Linked DNA regions of Homo sapiens: regions 2, 3 and 4 are each linked to region 1. Evidence: promoter capture Hi-C in 16 types of primary human blood cells and fetal thymus (Javierre and others, 2016). All regions are on one chromosome and are shown on one strand. The core of a region is centred on a gene start or on the middle of the fragment in contact, and the rest is flanking DNA. Distances in the headings are between cores, read along the strand shown.

Region 1 (7,232 bases), core at 2,755-5,254:
ACCTTGGCCTTTATATCCCAGGCATGTGAAGCTGGAAAGCCACTCGAGTGCACAAATGGAAAGACCCGCCCTAAACCCTTCTTTTGCGGCAGGGGAGGCCATAGGTAAAATAGTATTGGTTGAGACAAATTGGAATTTGTCAAGTTTTTGGTCTGAGTTCCGCCTGGTCATATATTCCCAAATGGTCCTATTTGTGTGAGTTTGTCCTTTGCTACTGTAAATGAAACTGAAAAGTCATCCAAGTGGTCTGATGCTTAATTTTCAGACAGGGGCTTTTTTCTCTTAGCGTTTCTCTTATGGATCCCCATTCATAACAGCAGAGGAATTAAAGTTAGAATCATGGCGTTTGTGATGCGAGTCTCTTCTCACCATGTTTTTTTGTTTTTGTTTTCATTTTTGTTATTGTTTTTGGACAGAGTCTCTGTCTCCCAGGCTGGAGTGCAATGGTGCAATCACGGCACACTGCAACTGTGACCTCCCAGGTTCAAGCCATCATCCTGCCTTAGCTTCTCAAAAGTAGCTGGGACTGTAGGCCTGCAGCACTGTGCCCAGCTAATTTTTGTATTTTTTGTAGAGACAGGGTTTCACCTTGTTACCTAGGCTGATCTTGCACCCCTAAACTCAAGCGACCCGCTTGCCTCGGCCTTCCAAAGTGCTGGGATTACAGGTGTGAGCCACTGCGCCTTGCTCTCTTCTCATCATGTTATATTTTAGTATTTGTGCAACATGAGATGAGCTGGGAGCTCTGTGGTGACCTGATAAATGCAAACCAGACAAGAGGGTGCAGTCACCTGGAGGAGGCCTGCAAGCTTCTCTGAGCTTCGTGTCTGTGGGAGGCCCAGCTCAGCTCCATCTCCAGCCAAGGGGATTGGATTCCCTCTCAAGTCTGAGAAATACAACCTCATGTCTCCTGCCCAGACTCAAGCACCTTACAAGTACAGTGAAACATTTTATAGTATATACTGAGTGGAAATTTAAAATGGAATTGGGTCTGCCAAAACTTAGCAAAGTTAAGCACTGTCTCAGTCTCAAGTCATCTTTCAGATAATGTTTTTATTTTTATTTGTAAAATTATTTTTAAAAAGTGGACGATTCCATTATTTACACATTTTTATTTTTGAGATAGGGTCCCACTGTGTCGCCCAAACTGGAATGCAGTGGTGTGATCTTGGCTAACTTACTGTAGCCTTTGTCTTCTGGGCTCAAGCAATCCTCTCACTGCAGCCTCTGGAGTAGCTGAGACTATAGGTGTGCACCACCACGCCTGGCTAATTTTTTTATTTTTAGTAGAGACAGGGTTTTGCGATGTTGGCCAGCCTGGTCTTAAACTCCTGGGCTCAAGCAATCCACTCGCCTCAGCCTTCCAAATTGGGTAGTGTTTTTAAAAGGGAAGCCAAAGAGCCAGGCGTGGTGGTGTGGCCATTAGTCACAGCTACTCAGGAGGCTGAGACCGGAGGCTGATTGAGCCCAGGAATTCCAGGCTGCAGTGAGCTGTGATGGCACCACTGCACTCCAGCCTGGGCAGCATTGTGAGTCCCTGTCTCTATTAAAGGAATAGAGTCTGGACGTGCACTCCAGCCTGGGCAGCATTGTGAGATCCTGTCTCTATAAAAGGAATAGAGGCTGGGCATGGTGGCTCACGCCTGTAATCCCAGCACTTTGGGATGCCGAGGCGGGCAGATCACCTGAGGTCAGGCGTTCGAGACTAGCCTGGCCAACATGGTAAAACCCCATCTTTACTAAAAATACAAAAAATTAGCCAGGTGTGGTGGTGGACGCCTGTAATCCCAGCTACTTGGGAGGCTGAAGCAGGAGAATCGCTTGAACGTAGGAGGTGGAGGTTGCAGTGAGCTGAGATTGTGCCACTGCACTCTAGCCTGGGTGACAGAGTGAGACTCTTGTCTCAAAAAAAAAAAAAAAAAAAATAGAGGTTGGGGTGGCGGGGATAGCTGACTTTCAACACTTTTCTTTAAAAACTAGTAGTATAGGATAAAAACAGGTATTTGTAACTTTGGAATTTCATATCTCTACTTATTTCCACCTTCTTCCCAATTAGGCTATGTGTGGGAGAAAACCAATTGTAATGATTTCCTCTGTGAGCAGGAACTTGTGATGAAACTGTGGTTCCCTCCCCCAACCAGTTAGGCAACCTATTAACAAAAAAGAGAAGTTTGGATATGTCACACCACAGCCTGCTTCTGTGAATGATTTCTTTTAAGAATCCTCATATTCTAGGAATTGTTTTTTAAACACAGTATCCAATGAAAAGGTTGAAGATTTATTTCCTCCATGGAGGGAATAGAAAGATTATTCTTATTATTTTAAAAAACCATATTGAGGCTGGGCATGGTGGCTCATGCCTGTAATCCCAGCATTATGGGAGGCCGAGGCGGGCGGATCACGAGGTCAGGAGATCGAGACCATCCTGGCTAACACGGTGAAACGCTGTCTCTACTAAAAATACAAAAAATTAGCCGGGTGTGGTGGCAGATGCCTGTAGTCCCAGCTACTCGGGAGGCTGAGGCAGGAGAATGGCGTGAACCCGGGAGGCGGAGCTTGCAGTGAGCCGAGATCTTGCCACTGCACTCCAGCCTGGGTGACAGAGCGAGACTCCGTCTCAAACAAACAAAAAAGCCATATTGAAAGTAGGAAGAGAACTAATTCTTGACATTTAAACAAAGCTGTCTCTCTATCTAGTAAGTAAGAAGTAAGTAAATGTCTTGCTCTGTTGCCCAGGCTGGAGTGCAGTGGCACAATCACAGCTCCCTATAGCCTGAAAGTCCTGGGCTCAAGTGATCCTCCTGCCTCAGCCTCCCAGGTGGGTGGGACTGCAGGTGCAGTGCAGGTGCCATCACGCCCAGCTATTTTTTTTTCTTGTGTAGAAATGGGGGTCTCATTATGTTGTTCATGCTGGTCTTGAACTCCTGAGCTCAAGTGATCCTCTCACCTTGGCCCCCAAAGTGCTGGGATTACAGGCATGAACCACCACGCCCAGCCCAAAGCTTTATTATATTAGATTTCAAATTTCTAACATATCAAAGTAGCGAAGTAGTACAGTCAACCCCCTGCCATCACATGGCTTCGACCCAATCTTGTTTCTTTTCTCCTCCCACCTACTCCCTCACTCCCATATTATTTTAGAGCAAATCCCAGCCATTTTATCTGCATCTTTCAGAATATATCTCTAAAAGACAGGAATTCTTCTTTAAAATAATGCTAATTAAAATAGTCTATGAAAGTAATATATACTTATTAGCAAAAAACAGGTTATTAAAAGTAGAAGCAAAAAGTCACCCATAGTCCTTTTGCCTGAAATAACTCCCATTAACATTTTGATATATTTCTTCACAGATGAGAAAAAATTAAGAACTTTCCCCCCTTCCCTGCCCTATAATCCAAATTGTGTGGGCAAATCTGAGATTACTAGATGTATTGGAAATCCTTTCTCTTTCATAGATAAAAAAACAGAAGTAGACAGAATTTTAAAAATAGATATACTATGGGATGGCTATTGGAGTCATGGCAGTTTTTTTTTTCTTAAATGAAAAGTACTTTTATAGAAATTGTTCTTTGAAAATATTCAGCAAATAATCATTTATTGCTTTCTATGTGCAGATCAAGTTTGTATGATAATTAAATTATTGATAACTTATACCTACGATTTTAAGAATATTTTCAACCCTTTGGTCAGATTGTCTCCAATTAGCATAATAGCAAAGAGACTTTTCAAGGTTAATATGAAACTTTTTCTCAGCTATTTTTTTATTGTCTATTTCTCAGGGGAAAAAGGAAACTTATCCTCTTAGGCAGTTTTCATAATGTTATACATTTAAAAATTAATCTGAAGGAGCTTAAAATATAAATGCATTAGGTGAAAAATAGCAGTTGATTTAAATAAAATGAAGGAGGAGAAGAAAAAGAACCTTACCGACACAAAATAGAATGAGATTGGTTTGCAGATGGCGAGCGATGTTGCTTCTGCTCGCAGTCCCCATTTCTGTGTATGCCGGGGCGGGTTGGGGTGTGTATTTGAAAGGAAAGTTGGCTTTCTTTTTTCAGAAGGGAAGAAGAGCTGAAGAGAGGAACCTCTTATGAAGGAACCATAATCAGGAACTTTTTGAAATTGTGCAAGGATGGCTTCACCATTTAACATTGAGATTTTGGCCTGGAGCACATTTAGAAATGTGCATATCTTTTTTTTTTCCATGGATTTTACAGTTGTCATAGGTGTTAGATGTTTCTGGGTGAGATTTTGATTTACACCTAGCACATATTTCCAGGAAGGAGTATTGTTTGACAAATAATTCGTACTTGGATTTTTCAGAACAGTTCAGTCACTGTCTAGGGTACCTGCTCTGGGTGCCACTCTGGGCCAGTAACTGCTGGGAACAAAGAACAGCAGAAGGAGAAGTGGCTTTGTGTAGAGATGAGAAAAGTTAGTAAACAACACATTCTAATGCAGCGAATAAATAAATTGTCTGTTATTAACTTTTTGTACTCCAGTTTTGAATCCAAAGACACCTGCCTTCCCCCCTTTTTTGACAGGGTCTCTATCACCCAGGCTGGAATGCAGTGGCAAGATTGCAGGTCATTGCAGCCTCAGCTTCCTGAGTAGCTGGGACTACAGGCATGCACCACCACCCCTGGCTAATTTTTTTTTTTTTTTGTAGATTCTGTGTTGTCTAGGCTAGTCCTGCCCTCAAGCGATCCCCCTGCCTTGGCCTCCCAAAGTGTTAGGATTACAGGTGTGAGCCACCATGCCTGGCCCAAAGACCCCCTTTTAATGTGTTGAGAAACAAATATGTGGGCCCTCTGTCCTCTGTGTCCTCTCCCCCAGCACTTAGTGGTGATTCAGTAAGGGTCTTCTTTGTAAAGCAGCAGAAACAGACTCAGGCTGACTTAAAAGGAAATTTATGCAAACATTTGAAGGTAGATCCTAGAGTCACTGGGAGGGCTAGTGAATCTTGTGTGGGGTCCACAGCCAGGAAGAATGCCTCAAATCACACCATAAACAGGTCTGAAGAGGATGCTACTGCCACTGCCAAACACTAGGTGCCATCAGCCCTGTTGTCAGCATCGCTCAACCACTGCCCCAGCCCCTTGGTCTCACTGCCATTGCTCCACCCCCAGAGAAGGAGAAGCTCACATCCCCACTACTCTGGGTCACTGGCTCTCCATTCCAGGGCATGGGCAAGTGTGCCTGGCTTAGGCTGCGTGCCAGTGCCTCAGCTGCACGGCAGGCCAGGAAAGCGGCTCCCAGGCCTTGTGTCTCTCCCAGACTCTGGGCAGGCAATTCCCCAGACATGGGAAGAGCGTCATCTGCACCACTGAAAATTATGAAAAATCTCCCCACCATGATATGATGTCTGTGCCCTTGGCATCTGCTCATGATATATTTTCTCATTAACAGAAAGTTATTCTCAGTCTGTTTTGTTTTTTTTTTTTTTTTTTTTTTTGAGACAGAGTCTCGCTCTGTCGCCCAGGCTGGAGTGCAGTGGCACGATCTTGGCTCGCTGCAAGCTCCGCCTCCCGGGTTCACACCATTCTCCTGCCTCAGCCTCCCAAGTAGCTGGGACTACAGGTGCATGTTGCCATGCCCAGCTAATTTTTTTGTATTTTTTTTAGTAGAGACGGGGTTTCACTGTGTTAGTCAGGATGGTCTTGATCTCCTGACCTCGTGATCCGCCCACCTCGGCCTCCCAAAGTGCTGGGATTACAGGCATGTGCCACCACGCCCGGCCTCAATCTGGTTTTAACACTTCAACAGATGTATGTAGTTTTTGTATCACCATAGCACCTAAAAAGTACCCCCAAAGTTAAATATACTGTCATCTCTGTGTGTGTGTCTGTAGTCAGTGCCAGGTTTGTATGTGAATTTGAGGACCTTCCCTAGTCCCCTTGTCCCCCAGGCATCTCCTGCTCATAGGTTTGGAAATGACTGATAGAGGCTTCATCTCTAGTCCAAGAAATGCTGGACGGTGTATCCATCCTACTGTTCCATCTCTCTCTGGTCCTGGAGCTTAATGTTTATGAAATTGTTCTGAAAAGGCAAAGAATGAGTCAACTTCCCTAGAAAAACTCCCCAATGATCTGCTTTTCTAAATTAAAATCCTTCATGAGCCTGTTTTTATTTTCAGCCTAATAAATCTCTCTAGGTAGTAAGTTGCATAAGTTTACTATGCCAGTGGTATTTTCTTGCATTTGTCCAAAACTGTCCTTCAGATATTACATGTTGCTCTCTGTTTCAGTATTCCAGCATTTAATGACCAGTTTTCCAAACCCATTAACCATTACACCCTGCAGTCAGTCTATTGGCAGATACTACCCAAAACTGTCAGAGAAGATAACAGTGTGGGGCCTTGGATCCAGACAAACCTGGGCTTACATTTCCATACTGACACTCATTAACCTTGCAAGCGTGGGCAAGTTCTTCACCCCTTCTGAGTCTGTTCTTTATCTGCCCACCTGTCTCAAAGAGTACCTGGGAAGTACAAAAGAGGTAACTCATGAAGCCCTCAGGCTTGGAACGTACCAAGTCCTTGGTAGATATGGCTCCTCCCTGCTTCCCTCTTTAAATCACTTGTTTGTTCAAGAATTTAACTGAATGTTCTTATTTGTATTAGTAGGTGGCAAGTGGGAGAAACCATCAGAAATTTTGGAAATCAAAGGACAGAACTGGGAAGAACAAGTGAATAGTCTGCCTGAAGTTTTCAGAAAAGCTGGTTTTGTTATCGAAGCTTTCACCAGACTACCATACCTGTGTGAAGGCGACATGTATAATGACTACTACGTTCTGGATGACGCTGTCTTTGTTCTCAAACCAGTATAAACACGTGGAGGTCGAAGTCTTCAGAGTCCGCACCCTCCGGGATGTGCCCTTGGAAGAGGGTCTGTGTTCACAATTACGTGAAGGGAGGACCCTTGGGGACCGCCATTCTAAATATCATGTAGGAATTTAAAAAGCCAAAATACTAATTATTTCTTTGTAGTGTGTAAAGGAATGTTTTTAAAAGACAAAAACCCAACTCTTTGTGGATTTTTATCAACTCTTTACTCAGAGCCACTCTCCAATGCAGGTCACACTCCAATTATGATGGAAGATATTTTTTATACTTAATTGCAGTAGGGACTCATTCCCAGACAAAGCAATAGTCACGACTTCATGGAACCAATCAATGGATTGTTTTTTGAAGACTGGCAATAAAGCTGTCCATTCAATTCCAAATACTGGT
Region 2 (7,232 bases), core at 1,597-4,096, 430 kb after region 1:
CAAACACTAAGACACATGTTTTGGGTGGGTGGGTGGGGGAAATCTTCCTTATATTTATATAAATATATATAATATATATATTTTGCTGATGCAGTATACAGTGTGTATATATGTGTGTGTGTGTGTGTGTGTATGTGTGTGTAAATTTATATACACACACATGCAAACAGTTCCTGGAAGAGAATTCTGAATGCTTTGCTAGCAAAACACTGTGGTGTGCAAACCTAGAACCCAATAGAAAAAAAAGCCATTTATCTGAAGGCTGCATAGTGGAGAGAGTCTTCAGTTTACCTCATTCTTTGTAGCAGCCCTTGATTTTAACAGGTTTTTGTAATAGGTACAGATAATCCCATACCTTTCTAGGTGCGATTTTAAGTTAAGCTAAAAATTATTTGTAGGGTTAATTTATTTGTATATGATAGTAGAAGGTAAGATCATGTCAAACCTTATAATTTGGGGAATCTGACACTATTTAAATTATTGGCAACTGTTGTCTGTTGTACAGAGATTCTTTTTCTACTGGCTCAGTCTGTTACATTAATAATGCATTTTATATGTTCAGGCACACTTTACATAAATACAAAGTTCGCTAGTAAATATCTGGCTATTTTGGCTATTTACAACACTAATTTCATTATTTTTATCTGTAAGCATTATTAATACATCTTTACCAAAACCTGAGCAATACAATATTTTCTTTATATGTTATATGCCTTTGTTTGCTAAAAGCTAATATTTTTGCATTTACTTTAAAGGGCTGTACTAAACCCACAGCTTTAAGTTCTTCCCTAAAAGAAGCATTGCAGCTAACCCTTGAACTCACAGTTTTAAAATACAGTATTTCTCTTCTCCACATCTCCATGCCTTCGCATCAATGCTTGTTTTTCCTGGTGAACACTATAGATAATCTCCTGTTTGAAATGTGGGACAGGGTGTTTCATGGCAGTGGAGCTAAGTTTCTCCTCTTTATAGTGAACTGGTGACCCAAATGTCCCTGTCATTTATAGTGAACTGATGACCCAAATGACTCCCTGTCAGTAGAGTCCCATGTGGCCCATGCTTCACACAAGCAGAAATGAACGCACTGTTTTTAAGGCTAGATTATCAGTTCTAGAATGATTACTTCAAAGATGGGAGCTACCTCCTCAGATATTCACACTATGAAATGGAGGTGCTTGATGTGTTTCACACTGGCTTGTTTGACAGTCTTCTATCTTACTGTTAATTCAGCAGTATTTTATTGTGAAAGAAAACCCCAGTGTTTGAGCTCACTCAGGAATTGGGGAGAGAGATGGACCACCACTGTGGTGCATTTCTTAAGTGTTCTGGGAGAATGTCATACTTTTCCTTCCCAGAGTAAAAGAAACCTTTGGGAGATCCTGAGGGAGACTGTTTCTCCCCAAGTATGATGATGTCTAGTCAAGTCTAAGAATACCACTGGACATGTTCTATGGACATTTGGGATTGCAGTTGCTATTCTGATTTGATTGGTCCTCAGTCAAATGGATCACTTTGAAGGAAAGCTTTGGTTGTCACCGTTATATACCACTGAGATAAAGTGTTAGCAAAGTATGGTTCAAATTAACTTATGACATGACCAAGAGCTTTTCTCTTCCAAAAGATGAATTGTATTGTAAATAGTTTCTCAAAATATTTTTAACTGGATCATGAGCATGGGGAGAGAAAGTTTCTCAGCTGCTAAGAATTTCCCCACTGTTTACTTCTTTCACTTATGGTGGTATTGCATTTAAGATTACAAAATTTAAGGTTTTATTTGTATCTATTACCCAAACCATTAAATTGTCTTTAATTTCATTGTTGTCTTGGAGGTCCAGTGCATACAGGGCTGATGGGGGAAAACTCCCTCTAGCCAGTCAGCACTCTAACCCAGGATTAAACCATCCCATCAAGTAGTATGTGAAGTCAAGTCTTCGTACTCTTGCAGACCAGACATTGAAATGGATTCATTCATATAGATTTCTATAAATCCTATAAGTGAAAAGATAGACAACTGTCCGCAGTTGCTTTTAAAAAAGGTCACTATAATAAGTACTATATAGTACAGTATTAATTTATAGCAGGAAATCGTATCTTGTAAACTGTATATAAAACACTGTTTTATGGTGCAATCATTTGTCAAACTTTTGTCTGTTTCATTGTTTTTAGAGTGTGTGCATTCTTCTCATACCTAAGAATATCACTGTAAAATCTGCTGAAAACTATTTTTAGGTTTTATTTGCACAAGACTGAATTAGTTTGACATTTTTGGAAGCTCCTATTGAACATACCCAAACATCTGTAAACATGAAAAATCTTCAATTTATTAAAAGCAAACATTTCAGTATGATTCTTTCCAAAGGTAATCCATGTTCTATGTTGTTAATGTGTGTATGTAATTTTTCTGACTCTTCCACCTCTTATAAACCTATTTTCTGTTTCATTTGTTTTGTTTTTGAAGGATGGCTCTTTTTTCTTTTTAATGTTCTAGATGACCAAAACACTATTGGTTTTTACCCTTTTGCCTAAAGCTTTGATATCCCCACTTGATGTTCTGTGAATTCACTGTTTAATCTATTAAGTGAAATAATAAATAGTCCTGGTGACAAACAATCTGTTGATTTAGAGGAAAGGCCCTGAAAAATACAGTATTGGAAACTAACTTTGCATATGCTGTTAGCTATTATTTTGCATCATGGGCTTCATGGGAAGAACATGTTGCATTTATTTTGTCTTTATTAAAAGACTACTAGCCACAAGTTACTCTGATTATAGTAACTGTTTTATCAACCCACTTCATCTTTAAAAAATTAAATTTACATTCACAATTCAAAACAGTAAGCTGTCTTTCAGAAAATTTTTGAAGGATAAAAACATGAAGGAAAAAAGTGGCCCGTGTAGGTAGGATTCCCTACACAGGACTTTTAGTTGTATCACCTCAAGAGATTTTGAAGTTTGTGATCAAGGTCTGTATATTATCCCAAACTTTATTAAGAATTGTTTTCTAATTGGTTATAACATTTTTCAATTAATAGTTTCAAAACAAATTGTTAATACAACTGTATAAAATGAACATAATTTTCCTCACTTGTATTTTTGTTATTGAGCAAGTTTATCAAAATAAATTGTCTACTAAAGAAACTAAAAAGGCTTCTATTACTTTGAAATAAGCTTCATTTAAAAAATTGATTTCTTATGGAGGTTTCACATATTCACAAGTGCCACTTCCATGCCTCTTGGGTTGGTTTTTTGTTGTTGGCATTGGGGGGTGAGGGCGGTCTTTCCCTATCTTCTTCCACTCCCACTCTTTGCTCACCGCTAGAGAAGAGATGCCATTAATATTCCAGGACGTGGATTAGGCCATGATTACCCAAGAGTCACTCAGCAATAAAAGACCACATACATGTGGCTTTCCCTTCTGCGTCATGCTTCCATGAGCTAGGAGAGAGAAACCAAGCCAAAGCCCTCAAGCCAACTATCTTTCTATTCTTTCTTCCTTGCACATAGACCCAAGTCCATCTTTGCTTCAGTCTTCTGTTTCTACTTTACTCCAGGCCAAAAGATCTTAGCTTTTAAAATCTTAAAGTATGGGCTGGAGGAGCAAATACAGAGGCCTTTAGGCCCTGTCACAGCTTAACTATAGCTCTCTCTGGGGGTGTCAAGATTAGCCCAACCGAATAATAATAATAAAATATTTACAGTTTGCTGCTGATTCTTCCTTGTGTGGCCTTTTGAGGAGCCTCCTGGGGAATTGGAGGATTAAGACATGGTAAGATTTAGATGTTCTTGGGTTCTAAGATTAAGGGGTTTCCTTGGAGGTGAGACTTGAAGTACTATGTCTGGGAAAGTTCCAGGCAAACTAGGATAAGTTGGTCACCCTACCCTATCTTCACATCATCTAAATCTTCTCCTGATTTGTAACACAGATTAGAGGTTTTTGGGGGGTTATTTTCTATAAACATTAATGAATAGGTCAATTGGAAATTGTAATGGTAGATTTATGCTGAGCTGCTATGGTGGAGGGGACACTTTTTCTATTTGGTAATACCTTAGGAAAAGGTAACACAGTGGCTTTGAAAACAACATGGGTTCAAAAATACTTTATTTTGACTTATTCTTCTATCATCTCTATTCTAGCCACTATGAGAAGATTATAGGAAAAACACCAAGACTAGAGGACTCTGGGTTCCTTTTATGCAAAGTCAACTCTTCTGGGTCACAGTTACCCAGCAACAAAAATAAAGGTAGTTATTTATAAATGGTATTAAAGATAGAAAGCACAATGTATATTTTTTAAGAGTTTTGGTTCTTTTCCCAGGAGAAGAAAACACTGTGGGTTGGTATTTTCAAGCACATTCAAGGGTTTTACAAATCAGCCCCAGTTCCAGTCACACACAATCTAAGACCACCCAAGATAACATTTCAAGAAGAGATTTTTCACAAGACTATAAAATTTCAGTGCTGGATGAAATGTCAAAGAGCATGTCCAGTGTTTTCACTTTCCAGGTGAGGAAATCGAGGCCTCAGACTTTTCCAAAGTCACTCAACTAGATATCAGCAGAGCACTCGTCTTTGACATGTGGGCCTTGGACTTAAGACCAACATTCATATTCTCTAGCCATTGAACCAGTCTTCCTTCAACTGGTCTCCATTCACTCTGATCCATCCAAATCAATTCTGCCAAGATACTCATAACACAAAAGAAAGCATATTATTTCCATGTTCACATTTCTGTCATTCCCATTGTCTACAGAATGAAATCCAAACTCCTTTAGCATAGCTTTGACAAGCTTTCGTGATCTGGCTTCAAGCTCTCTGTTCAGTCATTTCCCACCTCTCTCTCTCGTCACTTCTTACTGACAACCAGCCTGTTCTCCATTCTAGATTCACTACAACCTGCTCCCTGCCCCGGTTGTGTCTGTACCACCTCCTCTCAGTTTTAAAGTCCTCCCATATTTGAAATATATCTAATCTTTTGTGCTTTGTGTCTCTTTTTCTTATGCTTCTGTAACAGAACTTGCTAAACAGGCATAGACTGCCTGGATTAAATCTCAATTCCACCATTCCAGTTGTGTGACCCTTAGTAAATCATGTAACTTACGTGAGCCTTGGTTTTTTCATCTGTAGAATGGGACTAATAATATTACCCACTTAATGGGGCTATTGTTGGTTTAAAGGAGATAAAGTTCCAAGCACATAGTAAGCATTCAAATGTTAGTTGCTGATATTGTCATTAGTAAGTGCTTTTGTATAACTATATAAACTCTTGAATGCAAAGAGTATGGCTTCCTCATTGTGTACTCACTAGAAACCTGGCACAGTGCTTTACACACTGAATTATGAAAATTAAAGTTGGGGCTAGGTGATAAAGAAAAATTATGAAACCATATTTCCTGGAGATTTGAAAGACAGAGTCATCAATCTGCCAGGTTTGTTTCAGTGAACTTCCTCCTGAAGGCAGAGGCTTGCCTAAATCAGCCTTTATAAGGATGGTTACTTTATTAATAAGTATTTGGCTATATAATATATCAGTTCCATTGATCTCCTTAGAATTTCCCCATGGACTCCAGATCCTTTACTACTGAACTCACAGGGCTGTAACACTGTTACTGTACAGAGAGGACCAGGACGATGCCAGCACCCCGTTTATCCTGAGTGAACTCTCCGGAGGCCTCTTCAAGCTTGTGGGTTCTCTGCTGTCTTGAAGCCATCCATCCATTTGATAGGTTTTGCAAAGACTTGGTCCTGCCAAGATGGTTTTAATCATTTCTGCTAAAAGGAATGGACTCGAGGATTTGATCTCATTTTAGATGCAGTTGTCCTCACTTGGCCATTTTACAGCACTTTAGTAAATATGGCCAGTGTATTTGGTCACTATTAAATCAATCCCCATTCATTATCTGTCAGGGCAACTCAGTGAACTAAATACTATGTTCTGACCTCTGGCACTCTTTCTCATGTTGTTTAAATATTTAATATTGTCTAAGGCAATTCAAGTATTTTCTTAAATAAAAAATATGAAAACTCACTCTTTTCCATTCCTTTGTTTTCTATGACAAATGCAAAGAAGTTGAAGAACCAAAATCCTTTCCATTTTCCATAATAAATTGCTCTTTAAAAACTGACATATCTAAGAAGGCTTTTGACTACCTCATCTTCTAAATGTTTTACTAAGATAGGTAGTAAGCAGCAAAATGAACTTATTTGGTGCAGTCCCACCCTTACATGCACCACTCCAATACTTTACCTAATTTCTGCCTTCAGGGTTATCAGTAACTTTTTCCTGCCTTATGTGCTATTGTGGAGAAAGAAATTATGACCTTGAGCCGGGACACAAATTTTCTTTTTACAATAACATGTATCTGTAGATTTTTTTAAAAAACACAAAAATAATATAGGAAACAAAAAGTTCCCTCCTCCACAATCCACCTTCCAGAGATAACCATTGTTAACAGTTTATTGGGTATTTTAACAGACATTTTACTGATCAGTTTAACAAAAGCAAGATATTATCTATACCTGCCACTGCTTTTTTTTTTTGAGACAGGGTCTTGCTCTGTCACCCAGACTGGAGTAAGTGCAATGGCACAATCCTCAGCCTCAAATTCCTGGGCTCAAGCGATTCACCCACCTCAGCCTCCCAAGTAGCTGGGACTACAGGTGCATGCCACCACGGCCTGCTAATTAAAAAAAAAATTTTTTTTTATAGAGATGGGGGTCTCAGTATGTTGACCAGGGTCGTCTCCCAGTCTCCTCCTGCCTTGGCCTCCCAAAGTGCTGGGAGCCACCATGCATGCCCTGTGGCTTTCTTTTTTGACTTAATTTGTGATGTAGATTTTTCTGTGTCAGTAAATATAGAGCTTCCTCATTTTAAATGCATAGTATTCCATTTGATACATATCAAATATGTGTCTTCCCATTTTGATGTACATGAGGTTGCTTCCAGATTTTTGTTATTGCAGATAATGCTGCTGTGAACTTAGGCCTTGGATAACAAAAACTTCTCAAATGTCATAATAACCTGACATTCTAACTGAAGCGTATCAACTATTAAAGGAATTCCTATTTTCAAAAGCACTGTGGTTAAATAATAGTGGCATTCTCTACGTTTAGAGAAGGAAACTAACAGTAAATTCATGTGTTATGTGCTTTCCCATATGTCATCTTAATCCTCTACCTGTGAAGTACAGGGTGGTGTTTTATAGACTACAAAACCAAGGATCAAAAGGCTGAAC
Region 3 (7,232 bases), core at 2,981-5,480, 330 kb after region 1:
TTTTGTTTTGTTTTATAAGAAAGACTAAAATACTTGTCTGCTATTTGGCAATTTATAAATCCCCACTGTCCAGATTGAAAGTGCTATCAACACTCCTAATTCATTAGTAGTTCGAGGGTTTCTCTAAAAGAGACAGACTTGGGACAAAGTTGGAAATCAACCTGCATTTTCATACAGCCGCTTAAGACATTTAAGTTTGACTCCATCTACTTAGAACAATTCAAAATGTGAATCTTGCAACTCCAGTGGTCGTTATGATCATTTAGTATTGCCCACAGGGGAAGCAGAATTACAACCCAGGATGGAACAACCTTTTGGTCATTTCTGTTCCCATTAGTATTGTTAGTTTTGTTATGCTGAGCACACTACAAAGTTGCATCTCTTGTATAAGTACAACACAATTTATTAAATATTGTATACATAGAACCAAGAATCGATAGGATGCAGGGCTGCTTGATTGTACCAGAAACAAAACATGATGAGAATACATTGAAACACTGGATTTACTTAAGAAAAACCTAAGTTTTTCAAATCTAATTTATTTAAGAAAACGTATTTTCTTAATAAGTGTAACACAGTTCTTACAAGGTATGGTAATAAGCAGAAAGTAGAATTTTGAATATTAATGTCAAAGTATGTTTTCTGCCATTTTGATGGAGTTGATACTTTTTCTTGTAAGTTCTTCCTGTAGTGAAAGAGAGAAAGTGAGGTGTCATTGCCGAAAGGACACACTAATAACCTCTTGGTAGTTTATTGCAGGTAAAATCATTTTTTAATTAAGCTGACAACGTGGTAAAACTGCAGCATTAAATTGTAATTATGTTTAAATGGAAGTCTTTCTGTAGAGTGTTAAAGGATGATAAACGTTTGAGGTTCAAATAACTCGACTGTCTTATCAAACACCATGTCTATAAGTAATAAGTTTCTGGGAGAATTGTGAATTGGATTTTGTTTTATTTCAAGTGGATGCTTTTGTGCCCATATTTAAGCTGCCGTTGCTTACAAGACCTGTACTGCCCTTCCCCACCTGCCTTTTCCATCATACCCTATGCTCACAGACAAATCTCAGCAAGAGGCAGGAGTTGCTTCACTAATCAAAACCTTACATTAAAATAGTTTTACCTAGATCTAAGTTCTAGTCCCAAATCAAAAAGCAATCTGTGGAGTTTTCAGTATAATTTCGTACTGACAGCTTTCCAAATAGTAACGTAAACGGTTCACGTACTTGGTGAACTGAAGAAATAGAATGGAGGCCATTAGCACTGTAAGTTGTTAGTTTGCCTGTTTACCAAAAATATGTTGAGTTTCGGGGCACATACCTTAAAATTGCCCTGTTTCACTGTGTAAGAGGAACTGGCTTGACTACTTCACCCTTGGTGAAAACAAACAGGCCCTAAAAGAGGCAGCAACAGCTGAAGTGGATATCACAGAAATAAACAGACAGCAGAAGCTCTTCAGACACCCCCGAAACCTGCCAAAACTCACAGGTAATACAAGTGAAACGATAGCATAAGAAGAAAATAAACATGAGAATCTTCAAACTACAAGCATTGAACGGTATCCTCCATCCAAGAAGAGAACCCACTTCATACAAGGAAAAGGCAAAAGGAAAAGGTCAAGACTGTGACCTTTATAACACTGTGACCCCAGCTGTGGGCCAGGTGGAGTTGTCTGTGGTGACACCAAGTACAGGCCTGACACCCTGGTTTGACAGAAGGCTCTTCAAGATCCCTGGTCTTCACACTGTAGCAGCCAAAAGGTAGGTTTACAATATACACTGTCCCCAACTTGCCATGGATCAATTATAATTTTTCAACTTGACTATGGAGGAAAACCATCGCAATTTCAGCTTCCAGTCATGGGTCACATAACGATGGGGATACATTCTGAGAAATGTGGTGTTAGGTGGTTTCATCACTGTGTGAACCTCAGTGTTCAGACAAATCTAGATGGTATAGCCTACTACACACATGGGCTCTATGGTATAGTCTATTGCTCTTAGGCTACAAACCTGTATAGCATGTACTATAGTACTGAATACTGTAGGCAGTTATAACACAAAGGTAAGTATTTGTGCATCTAAACATAGGAAAGGTACAGTAAAAATACAGCACAAAAGATAAAAAAATGGTATGCCATTTTTATGGCATAGCTCCTGCTTTCGAGTGAGTCAGTGAGTGAGTGGTGAGTAAATGGGAAGGGCTGGGACATTACTGTGCACTGCTGTAGATACTAAACACTGTAAACATAGGCTACGCTAAATTTATTTTTTTAAAATTGCACTACAACATTATGTTGTCAGTAAGTAATAGGAATCTTTCAGCTCCCTAATAATCTTAACGGGACCACCATCATATATGTGGTCCATCATTGACCAAAAACATCATTATGTAGTACATGACTATACCTTGAATTTCGATCTTTTCCTAGGCTAGTGATATGCAGTACATGAGATAATCAATGCTTCCTTACAAAATGGGCTTATGTTAGAAGACTTTTGCCCAGCTGCAGGCTATTGTAAGTGTTCTGAGCACATATGAGATAACCTGGGCCAAGCTATGATGTTCGATACGTTAGGTGTATTAAATGCACTTTTGACTGCCATCTCAGTGGATGACAGCCTTCTCACTGACAGCAGAGAGATCTTCCTCACTGTGCCAGTGGGCAGGAGAAAGAGCATGCTGCGACTGGCCAGTGACATGCAGAGGATCCAGATTGCACAACCGGATCCAGAGGCCTTGGGAAGCATTAGGGAGCTCTCCAGCTGTCTCACTCAAATCTGTAGCAGCATATGGACCCACAAATGGAGGCCAAAGTGGGCCCTCAATTGGACACTTTGGCAACCCTGAAGAGACTTCTTCCCTTCAGACTTACTGTTTTAGTATGTTCCAGAGAAGGGAGTGGCATTCTTCTTGGGGAATTCAGGAAGAGGGAGACACGCTGTTACTCTATCCATTAAATAAAGCTTTGATGTTCACAGCCCCCCGCCACCACTCAGAAAAAAAAAATAATTGCCTTGCTCTCTAAAACTGACTTCTGCCTTTTATTGGACAGGAACAAGCTGAAAGCTGGATACCTAATGTCAGTGGAGTCTTCTGAGTGTTTCCTGGAAGAAGTCGGGTCCCAGGCTCTAGTTGCTGGTTCTTACATGCCACCATCCACAGTCCTTCAGCAGATTGATTCAGTGGCTAATGCTGATATCATAAATGTAAGTAAATGAAAACTTAACGATTTAACAACAGAGAACTTAACCTTAATGATCCAATTTCAGAAGGATGCATAAGCGTCCTTGGGCAGTGTATTATTCTTATGTTTGGTGCTCATCTACTTAATGTGGAGGCAGGAGGGCTCATTCCCATAAGATCCGCAACAAGCTTCCCTGTCAGCTCGAGTATATGTATCTTCCTCCTTCAAATAAACTACCATTAGGTTAAACTGTGATGTCAGTAAGAGGGCTGCCATCCACTGAGATGGCAGTCAAAAGTGCATTTAATACACCTAACGTATCAAACGTTAGGTTAAACTAATGGTAGTTTATAAAATGGGCTTATGTTAGATGACTAGAAGTAAAGAAGAGTCAAATATTAGCAGTTTCATATGATCCAACCTAAATAGTGAAGTTTGCTATTTTTCCTCTTCAGTCCTAGCAATATTTCACCATCTAGCATCTTAAGATTTTCTTTACTCTTCTCAGCCTAGGACATTCTCTTGTTCTTGCTAATTTTTTTTTCACATATATTATTGTTCCCTACAATATTGAGCTGTTTTGAGGGCAAGGACTATGTCATGTACTTCTTTGTGTTCCCTGCTGTGCCTAACAAGCACATGACCTACAGAATTAATCCAAAGTAAGTGGGTTTTCCCCATTTTCTACATTAAACTTGCCAACTTGCTTTCTACTGTAGATGTCTCGGCCATCTTCTCACCAACAGGTCTACCTTGTATAGGGACAGTGGGGATAAGAAAAAATAAAAAACTAAGCTGGGTGCAGTGGCTCATTCCTGTAATCCCAGCACTTTGGAAGGCTGAGGTGGGCAGATTGCTTGAGCCCAGGAGTTCAATACCAGACTGGGCAATGTAGCAAAACCCCATCTCTACAAAAAAGTACAAAAATTAGCTAGGCTTGGTGGCATGCGCCTGTAGTCCCAGCTACTCAGGAGCTCATGGGGCTGAGGTGGGAAGGTGGCTTGAGCCTGGGAGGCAGAGGTTGCAGCGAGCCGAGATCATGCCACTGTACTCCAGGCTGGGCAACAGAGTGAGACCCTGTCTCAAATAAAAAAGAGACAAGGCTATTTTAAGATAGTAACCCTGACTTGATTTCACTTCGCCCCAATCGTCATTTCATACTCTTCTTTTTTTTTTTTTTGAGACGGAGTCTTGCTCTGTTGCCCAGGCTGGAGTGCAGTGGCGCGATCTCGGCTCAGTACAACCTCCGCCTCCCGGGTTCACGCCATTTTCCTGCCTCAGCCTTCCTAGTAACTGGGACTACAGGTGCCCACCACCACGGCCGGCTAATTTTTTGTATTTTTAGTAGAGACGGGGTTTTACCATGTTAGCCAGGATGGTCTCGATCTCCTGACCTCGTGATCCACCCGCCTCAGCCTTCCAAAGTGCTGGGATTACAGGTGTGAATCAACGCGCCCAGCCCATTTGGTACTCTTTTAAATGGCTGTCTTCATCTTATATCCTATCATTATGTGCGTCCCAACCCGACTGCTTCCACCACCACCTCTCCTTCATAGTAATAAGATAAGCTGGCCTGACAGAATATGGGGGCTGCTGCTCCACCTACACCTGACTCATGATACTACACTTAACCAGCCTTTGAACTTGGAAGTAGTGGCATAAAGAATCCTCTAGGGTATCAAGTTTTACTTTTAAGTTAACAATCAATGTATTTTTATTGACCCAGACTATTTGCCATTGTAATACCGAAACAGGAAAGTATATCCCTGCCTGAAGCCACACTACTCTATTTGACAGTGTCAGTGTTGTTTTCCTTATCTCTCTTTGAACAGCTACCCTCTTACCAGTGTTGCTCTTGCTTGGTTCATTACACATACAATGGGACTTTCAGAGAAACAGCTAAGCTTTTCCTCCCACACTGTCCCAAATTAAAGCACCAGCCATCTCCTAGTTAATTTTCACAACAGCTATTATAGTAATTGCTGGCTTAGAATGTCCTATCGAAGGCCAGGTTGGTGGCTCACGCCTGTAATCCCAGCACTTTGGGAGGTTAAGGTGAGTGGATCACTTGAGGCTAGGAGTTTGAGACCAGCCTGGCCAACATGGCGAAATCCCGTCTCTACTAAAAATACAAAAATTAGCTGGGCATAGTGATACATGCCTGTAATCCCAGCTCCTTGGGAGGGTGAGGCAGAGAATTGCTTGAACCTGGGAGGCGGAGGCTGCAGTGAGCCAAGATCGCAGCACTGCACTCCACACTGGGTGACAGAGCGAGACTCCACCTCAAAAAAAAAAAAAAAAAAAAGAATGTCCTATCCATAAATTCTTGAAATGACAAAATAAGTTCGCCTGCTTGATGATATATATTTTTATTTTTGTTAATTTTGTCTTTTGTTTGTTTCTTTAAAGGCGGCAAAGAAGTTTGTTTCTGGCCAGAAGTCAATGGCAGCAAGTGGAAATTTGGGACATACACCTTTTGTTGATGAGTTGTAATACTGATGCACACATTACAGGAGAGAGCTGAACGTTCTCTCAGCCCAGAGCAGCAAACACATGAAAGTCAGAAGTCTCTAATATATCATTTGTCTTTTTTCCAGTGAGGTAAAATAAGGCATAAATGCAGGTAATTATTCCCAGCTGACCTAAAGTCAATAAAACATTCTGTTTAAGTGTTTTTCTTACGTTTTTCTCAATGAGTTAATCAACAAGTATTTATTATGTGCTGATATCTTTGTTTTAGATGCTTTAAAGGAGACAGGAATATAATTATTGAGTATAGAAGCATCAGAAACTATTAAAATTAAGGCTAAGTGGCTATCGGGGTAAATAGTGCCAGATTACTATTGGTGGCGTTTAAGATGAAAGCAAGTTCAAAATTTGTCATTTTGGGTGTCAACAGCTAAATGGTCTGGTTTTTACCCCTGTTTTGCCTTTTTTGCAATAAAATTATTTCCAAAAAACATACATTTCCTATCAATCATATCCTATATTCCCATTCATTCATTTTTTTATGTCTGATTTATCTTCATTGACAGAGTTTTGTTTTTCTCTCATCTCCTGTCTCTCCCTTATCTGTTACTATCCTGTCTCTTCCAAATAATTAACTCTCAATTCAACATTTACAGTAAAAGAAGGGCTAAAAAGGGGAAAAAAAAAGAATTCTAATGTGAATAACTAGCCAAAGAATTATGTCTCTTAGTTATTTTAATTATAGTACTTGAAGTTTACCAAAAAAAAGAGAGAAACTAAATATTTAAAGAAAAATGTAGTGTTTACATAAAGTGACATTCTCTACTATGTTCAGACATTCTGATATTGGATTTCTCTACGGCATTTTCTAAAAGAAAGAAATTCTTCTCAAAAAGGAGGGTCTTATTCTGAAAATAAGATTTGTGAGGCCTGCAAGAACCCAAGGAAGTCTTTAGATAATCCTGTTGAAGAACATCTCTAAAGGCTTTATAACGCAGTCATAAGAGAAGAGAATTGGTGAGTCTACAGACAGTCCTTGATAAGTACAGCAAACTTGTGCCTGGTGAGGCACAAAACTTGGGTGTCTGCAAGATAAATGCTCATATGACCACAGATTTGCTAACCAACCTTTGATACCAGTTGGGCTTTACCCTCTTCAACTTGGGCACAATCTTCCAGCCAAAATGCATCTGAGGTAGAGGAGGTAGAGGAGGAAGAGCTTTCATTGTCTTGCTTCACCATTATCCAGTATGGAGAAGGGGCCCTCACTTCTTTCTTGTCGTCTCTGTGAATCATCACGTCACAATTAATGTCTTTTCCTACACTAATAGTATGGTTCTTCTTCTTATATCCATGCCAGTCTCTGGAGATGGATATTGGTCTCCTTGCAGGGTGATGCACAGTTGACCACGGATATCTATAATATTGAAGTCTTTTATCTAAATCTACATTTTCATTATCATCACTGCTTGTGAAAGATTCATCTTTTGCCAGCTCAATTTTCTTTGGTGTGCTGAAATGAAAAGAATAGTGAATAAAATAGATTCTTCATGTCTAAACATTTATGGTCCCCTAAC
Region 4 (7,232 bases), core at 2,276-4,775, 310 kb after region 1:
CTTTATTTGCCATTTTAAAAAATTGTGGTCAAATGTATATAACATAAAATTTATATATATATATATATATATATATATATATATATATATATATTTTAGACAGTCTCGCTGTGTCGCCCAGGCTGGAGTGCAGTGGCATGATCTTGGCTCACTGTAACCTCCGCCTCTTGGGTTCAAGCGATTCTCCTGCCTCAGCCTCCGTGGTAGCTGGGATTACAGGCGTGCGCCACCATGCTTGGCTAATTTTTGTATTTTCAGTAGAGACCATGGTTTCACCCTGTTGGCCAGGCTGGTCTCAAACTCCTGACCTCAAGTGATCCGCCCACCTCGGCCTCCCAAAGTGCTGGGATTACAGGTGTGAGCCACTGCGCCCGGCCCAAATTTATCATTTTCTTAAGTGTGCAGTTAAGTGGCATTCAGCAACCATCACCAACATTCAGCTCCGGAACTTTTCTATCTTCTCCCACCTGAAATTCTGTACCTGTTAAACAATGGCTGCTCATTCTCCCCTCCCCTCAGCCTTTGGCAACTGCCATTCTCTTTTCAGTCTCTACAAATTTGACTACTCCAGGTACCTCATAAGTAGAATCATACAATATTTGTCCCTTTGTGACTGGCTTATTATCCTTAGCATAATGTCCTCAGGGTTCATCTGTGTTGTAACATGTGACCAGATTTCACTCCTTTTAAGGTTGAATTATTTGCTGGTTTTTAAAAAAATTTTGAATTTTAGTTGGTTAATATGTGGAGTTTTGTTATATTATTGTTCGCACCTTTTATACTTCAGAAATTTTCTTTCCAAAGGAATTGGTTGATAGAAGATTATAAGGGAAAGCTTACTATCCTGATTCAGATGATTTACTCTAGTTTATTTTCCGATTCAGTGTGACCGCAACAAGGGAAAACATGGCTTATACTGTGGAATGCCTGCGGGGTGATGTGTAAGTACCTGTGTGTGTTTAGGACTTCTGCTTTGAAAGAAATACTAAGCTGCTCACTTCTGGTCTTTGTAATGCGTCATTATGACCTCTGACTTCCATTTTGGATTATTGTTCATAAACTGCTCAAAAACACTGCTTACCACAAGACCTAAAGTTTCACATTGAGAGCATTACAGCTATGTAGAATCTCAAATGTTGGCTTTACATTTTTGACTCATAATTCTTATCTCGATGTCTTCTGTAGTGATATTCTAATGGAGTTCCTGCTCAATGTCACCACAGCACCAGAATTTCGTCGTTGGGAAGTAGCTGACCTTCAGCCTCAGCTAAAGATTGACAAAGCTGTGGCCTTTCAGAATCCGCAGACTCGTAAGTACATTTCCAGATCACATTTGATTCTAAGATACTGGGTTTTTTAGAAGATCAATTTATAGAAGAAAAAAAATTGCTGTCAAAATTTTTATTTTTATTTTTATTTATTTATTGTTTTGAGACAGAGTCTCACTCTGTCACCCAGGCTGGAGTGCAGTGGCACGATCTTGGCTCACTGCAACCTCCAGCTCCCGGGTTCAAGCAATTCTCCTGCCTCAGCCTCCTGAGCAGCTGGAATTATAGGTGTGCACCACCACACCTGGCTAATTTTTTGTATTTTTAGTAGAAACAGGGTTTTGCCATGTTGGTCAGACTGGAGTTCAGTCTTGAATTCCTGGCCTCAAGTGATCCACCCACCTCAGCCTCCCAAAGTGCTGGTGTTACAGGTGTGAGCCACCATGCCTGGCCAAATGTTTTACTCCTTGAATTTGAAAATATCTTTTTCAAAAATTTGTTATTTAGATTTATTATTCTTTTGTTTCTAAACATTTATAATCATTTTTCATGTTTGATGGTAAGTAAATTGTTTGTAAGATCCTAGAAGTTTTTCCTGTTTCCTTCCCAATGTTTTGTTTTTGTTTGTTTGTTTGTTTGTTTTTGAGACAGGGTGTTGCTTGTTGCCCAGGCTGGAGTGCAGTGGCACAATCTCACTGCAGCCTGAACCTTCTGGACTCAGGTGATCCTCCTACCTCAGCCTCCTGAGTAGCTGGGACTACAGGCACACACCACCGCACCCTGCTAATTTTTATTTTTATTTTTTTATAGAGATGAGGTCTCACTCTATTGCCCAGGCTGGTCTCGAACTCCTGGGCTGAAGTGATCCTCCCACCTCAGCTTCCCAAAGTGCTGGGATTACAGGCGTGAGCCACTGTGCCTGACCCCTAGTGATTTTTAAGAGTTGTTTTGCTTACCCCAAATCCTACACCAGTTTATTGCTGCTGCTATTATTGCTTACTATTGTATTGCTATTATTGTTTAGCCATCTCCTCTTTATTGAGTCTTTCCAAAGTAAGTAACTTAATTTTTTTAATAGGAATCTTTTTTGCATTCATATTTTATGTTTATATAATGTCTAATTATATAATCTTGACAAGTACAACTGGTAATACAAGTCTGTAAGCAAGCGCCGCTGACTCTTGGGAGTCATACAACTTCTGGTGGGAGCAGAAATGTGCAGGAAGAGCAGAAATAGCTCAACTCAGTGGTTCAGCATGGGACAGGCTCCCCTCCACATGCAGGCCTGGGGACTGATGTTATTTCATGATGATGCTTGGTGTCACAGAGGAGCATTATCTTTGTTGCTCAGGATTTCTACTGAAGAAATAGATAGAATAGTACAATTTTAGAAAAGATGACCTATGTGTCCAGAGTGGCTTCTTCCCCACTGGCGGCAGTGAGGCACCAGCCTGCATCTATTCTGCCTGAACAGTTACTGTGTAGTCTCCTGGCTGGTGTCAGCCTCCAGGTTTACGTCTTGAGTCCATCTCCCACACGGCCATTACAGTGATCCTTCTGACGTGAAAGTAAGCCTTCTTATTATCTATGGGATAAAGTCCAAACAGCATATACGTATATGGCCTTGCGTGATCTTACCCCAGCCCACTTCTCTTACTTTATGCTCTACCCTCTTCTCCTTCCAGCTGCAATTCCCATTTGAATCAAATTATTGTTATACTTTATGCCTTTGTTTTGTCTGCTTCCTGTGCCTAAAATGCTGTTCCCAAATGATTTCCCCTGGGAAACACCAGCTCATTCTGTAAGATGGATCCCACATATTACTTGTATTAATTGTTTTCCAATTCCCACTGCCCTTGCCTTGTACCTCTACTGCACTTTTGACACACTGCCGACATTGCACCCATAATACTTTATTTCACAGTTTTTCCTCTTAAAATTTGAGGGCAGGCATTGTATGTTCCACATCTCTGTATTTCTAGCACCTAGCACAGTGCCTCGCATAGGCAAGTTGCCAGGTAATGAGCAACTGAAGGAAATACTGCAGGCAAAAAGGCATTGAAGCAAGAAAGCAGGGAAAGCACCAAGCACCACAGAGGAGTAAGTCCCAGTGGAAGCTCCCATTGGTCCCCTGAAAGCTACCTGACAATCTCCTTATTACCTAGAGAGGAAACCTAGGAGTAAGTAAAATTCAGATTAAATGACTTGTCCAAGGTCACATGGCAAGATGGCGGCAGAACCATAACTAGATGGGGACTTCCCAAAACCCAGGCCAGTATACCTTCCAAGTGATACCAGCTAGGTTAAAGTTAGAAAAGTGGTTTAGGTGGACTCCAGTATATAGAAGCTGCTGCCATGTAATCTTTTTTATTTTTTTCTCAGCACATTCTACTGGCAGAAACTGGCAGTTACTAGAGGTTAAATAATAATAAATTTTAAGTCCTCTTAACATATGAATGCCAGAAGATGACCAAATTTGTATAGGCTTGTTGCTTTCTAGGTTTTAAAAATGTTGTCTTTACTGAAAGTGCATTTCCCTAAATGCTTCTTCACTTATCTCACAGATGTCATTGAAAATTTGCATGCAGCAGCTTACCGGAATGCCTTGGCTAATCCCTTGTATTGTCCTGACTATAGGATTGGAAAAGTGACATCAGAGGAGGTACCAATAAAACATATTTTGAAATGTGCTTGTTTTTCACATTAAATTGAACATCTCCCATTTCAGGTTTGTTTGTTAATTTTTCCTTTTATCTTCTAACTTTAAGAAATTCAGCGTGCTAGCTTTTTCATCCACCTGCTTTTTAACTAAAATTTTATCTGAACAATTTTTGTGTCTCCTTTAAGAAATGTTTTCATGACTAAAGGGACATGATCATTACAGAAAAATTAAAAAGTAAAATCAAACAAAATGAAGGGAAAGAAAACATCTCACATACCTAAAGGCACTCAGTGTTAATACCTGGTATATTTTCTTCTAAACCGTTTTCTGTGTGTATGTATCTTTTTTGTTTGTTTGTTTTAAATACGGGGTCTTGCTGTGTTGCCTAGGCTGGTCTTGAACTCTTAAGCTCAAGCAGTCCTTCTGCCTATGCCTCTCAAAGTGCTGGGATTACAGGCATGAGCCATTGCACCCAGCCTGTGTATCTTTTTTAAACAGTATTTAAATGTTTAAGTATCATAATAGGGGCTGGGCCCAGTGGCTCATGCGTGTAATCTCAGCACTTTGGGAGGCCAAGACAGAGGGATCACTTGAGGCCAGGAGTTCAAGACCAGCCTGGGCAACATAGCAAGACCCTGTCTCTACAAAAAAAAAATATATATATATGTGTGTGTGTATACATATATATAAAATAGGTCCTTTGACTAAAACTCTTTGGTCTCTCTGAATTTGTAAATAAGACTTGAGCCCACTTCCTTAGCTCCTGTTCCATCCTCGCTCACTCATTCACGTTCTTCAGCACACCAGCCTCCGTTTGCTGGCTATAGGGGTTTGTCACATGCCACAGCCATATGTGCATCTTAGAACTTTGTTTCCAAAACATGAAACATTGAATGCTAAATCTACAAGTGTAGATATGTGCGTATAATCTTAATTTCCTATTCCTACCACCCAGACCCAAAAACAAATTTTATCAAAAGACATTAAGAGAAAAATTTGTAATTATCAACACCTTCAAAGTATATCTGACTCAAAAATTCAAGGTTTTTATTCTCGTTTTATTCTTAGTTAGCTGTTACAGAAAACTAAACTGTATCCCTTGCTCTTTTTGACTTATCAATTAACAGTTTGATGCCTTTCATTCATATGGCACTTTTATTTAGAAATTTTAACTTACATCATCCAACTTGAACAGGCAGCCGTTTTCATAAGACTGGACTCTAATGAGTTTTGAAATTTTTCAGAAATCAAATTCACCCTCATGAAGATGTGTCATTAAGTTAGCTAAAACTTAGCAAAAGTTTATCTACAAGGATGGCTATTGTAATACTAGTTTATAATTGTGAAAAATTAGAAACAAGTTAATATCCAGCATTAGGGAACTAGTTAAATAACTTATAGAATGGAACAGTATTCAACCATTCAAAAATATTAGTTGATACATAAAACTCCACAGCATGTTGTCACATAAAGCAATTTATGGATTAGGACATACCAAAAGGTCCCTTTTTTTTAATAAAAGGTATGTATGTATGCATTATAGACAAATATCAAGATGTTAACTGTGATAACTTGGTTATCTCAAAGTTAATAGTATTTTTTAAATGTGTCCCTAGGCTAAAGGAAACTCTAAAGAAATTGGCGCTAGAATACTTGGAGCAATGGCAGCATCAATAGAAAAACATCAATAGAAAAAGAGTATGACTTTCCAAGGTTACTCCATAGGTACAGACACCATTCATTTTAGGGCACGGATTATGATAAATTGATTAAAAGTTCAGTTTCATTACTTTAGCCCAGTGATTCTCAAAACGTTATCACTTTCCTTCCTGAGGAGCCTTTCTAGCCATTTTTTTCTAAACCTCTTACTTTTAATACCACAGATAGAGTTTATGTGCTGTATATTTGTACTTTTTACATAGAAGTCGTAAGTTTTTTTTTTTTCTTAGTTACCCCAAACCAATTTTCACCCATCTGGAAAGGATAGCATTTCTGTTGAAAGTACATGTTTTAGCCCTACTTTTGTATATTAAGCCTAAGGTGGTAATATAAACCAGTGATAACCAAGTCTCACCAATCTTCAGATCGCCTGAGTGGTTGATTGGATGGATGGGTAGTTGGTCGGTTTTAAATAAGGATTCTAGGATTCCACATTTAATATTTTATATCAGTCTGTAGGGTAAGTCCCAAGAATGGGGGACAGTGACCGTTTTTGTTTTTCAAGCTGAGTAATTGTGATCTTACAGTTTCGACACCCTGGTATAGACAATGACTTCATGGTCAGAAAAGCTTTATAGAGATTGGCTTCAAAGATGGACGAGAAGGGTGTTGTGGTAAAACTCTGTTAGCCCTGTTATAGAATGTTAATAGTGCTTCATTACTACTTATATAAACACAAAAGAAACCTGACATACTACGTAAGCTACATTATAATAAAAATCATAGTCCACGTTTTCAAGTTTAGGCCAGTGTATGCTCTAATTTCTTTTTATTCCTTTTTTTTTTTTTTTTTTTGAGACAGAGTCTTGCTGTGTCGCCCAGGCCAGAGTGCAATGACACGATCTCAGCTCACTGCAACCTCTGCCTCCTGGATTCAAACAATTCTCGTGCCTCAGCCACCCATGTAGCTGGGATTACAGGCGTGCACCACCATGCCTGGCTAATTTTTGCATTTTTAGTAGAGTCAGGATTTCGCTGTGTTGCCCAGGCTGGTCTCAAACTCGTGGCCTCAAATGATCCGCCAGCCTTGGCCTCCCAGAGTGCTGGGATTACAGACATGAGCTACTGCACCCAGCCTCTTTTTATTCCTTTTATAAATAACAGCTTTGTTGAGATGTAATTCACCATACTATACAACCTATTTAAAGTGTACACAATTCAGTGGTTTTCATTATATTCACAGAGTTGTGCAACCATGACCACAATTAGGTTCTAGTTCTTTTAAGCAATAGTTTTTATAATAAAATCCCAGGGTAATTCACCTCAGTTAGTACCTTGTAGTTCATTACAGCAACTTATAAGGCCTTATAAGTATTTATTTTCTTCCAAACTGTACTTTTATGTTTTTACAGCTTTTTATATTTATGCTAATATAACCTAATAAGTGTTTTTAACTTCCTCAGTTACATTACTTCGTTCAGAACCATTTCACAAGTGCAAGAATGGCTTTGATTGGACTTGGTAAGTTTAGAGTATTGCCTGCCTGTCAGTTTGCTTCCTTAAGAGCAGTTCCTTAAACTGTAATTACGTGAACATAGGATTGAACAAAATTTGAAAACTTCGGCCTTCTATTTATGTCAGAC

Evidence for each region. The method cuts DNA at HindIII sites, captures the fragments that hold promoters and counts their contacts. A CHiCAGO score of 5 or more calls a contact.
Region 2: a fragment that was not itself captured here is called in contact with the fragment with the promoter of IGSF6 in region 1 in 1 of 17 cell types (total CD8 T cells); the score reaches 6.6 in total CD8 T cells.
Region 3: a contact is called between a fragment that was not itself captured here and the fragment with the promoter of IGSF6 in region 1, in 1 of 17 cell types (M1 macrophages). The highest score is 6.3, in M1 macrophages.
Region 4: a contact is called between a fragment that was not itself captured here and the fragment with the promoter of IGSF6 in region 1, in 3 of 17 cell types (neutrophils, M2 macrophages and M1 macrophages). The highest score is 8.1, in neutrophils.

The regions. Positions count from the first base shown.
Region 1 is chr16:21,648,604-21,655,835 of GRCh38, forward strand. It overlaps IGSF6 (immunoglobulin superfamily member 6), which reads right to left and starts at 4,005. Exons shown (of 6, transcript NM_005849.4): 1 at 3,929-4,005. The coding sequence starts at 3,995. It overlaps METTL9 (methyltransferase 9, His-X-His N1(pi)-histidine), which reads left to right. Exons shown (of 5, transcript NM_016025.5): 5 at 6,624-7,232. The coding sequence ends at 6,829. The HindIII fragment of the contact is 3,735 bases long and covers 3,001-6,735 here.
Region 2 is chr16:22,081,510-22,088,741 of GRCh38, forward strand. MOSMO (modulator of smoothened) reads left to right here. Exons shown (of 3, transcript NM_001164579.2): 3 at 1-3,145. LOC105371129 (a long non-coding RNA gene) reads right to left here. Exons shown (of 4, transcript NR_188624.1): 3 at 5,589-5,742; 4 at 4,286-4,685. Among named protein-coding and RNA genes, the nearest start is that of VWA3A, 7.4 kb to the right of the region's middle. The HindIII fragment of the contact is 640 bases long and covers 2,527-3,166 here.
Region 3 is chr16:21,977,493-21,984,724 of GRCh38, forward strand. It overlaps UQCRC2 (ubiquinol-cytochrome c reductase core protein 2), which reads left to right. Exons shown (of 14, transcript NM_003366.4): 13 at 3,055-3,208; 14 at 5,596-6,168. The coding sequence ends at 5,679. PDZD9 (PDZ domain containing 9) reads right to left here. Exons shown (of 4, transcript NM_001363519.1): 4 at 6,373-7,168. The coding sequence ends at 6,775. It also overlaps the pseudogene LOC100420644. Among named protein-coding and RNA genes, the nearest start is that of PDZD9, 20 kb to the right of the region's middle. The HindIII fragment of the contact is 1,716 bases long and covers 3,373-5,088 here.
Region 4 is chr16:21,961,576-21,968,807 of GRCh38, forward strand. UQCRC2 (ubiquinol-cytochrome c reductase core protein 2) reads left to right here. Exons shown (of 14, transcript NM_003366.4): 5 at 885-941; 6 at 1,186-1,310; 7 at 3,833-3,930; 8 at 7,053-7,110. It also overlaps a transcript of PDZD9 not described here. Among named protein-coding and RNA genes, the nearest start is that of UQCRC2, 12 kb to the left of the region's middle. The HindIII fragment of the contact is 5,384 bases long and covers 834-6,217 here.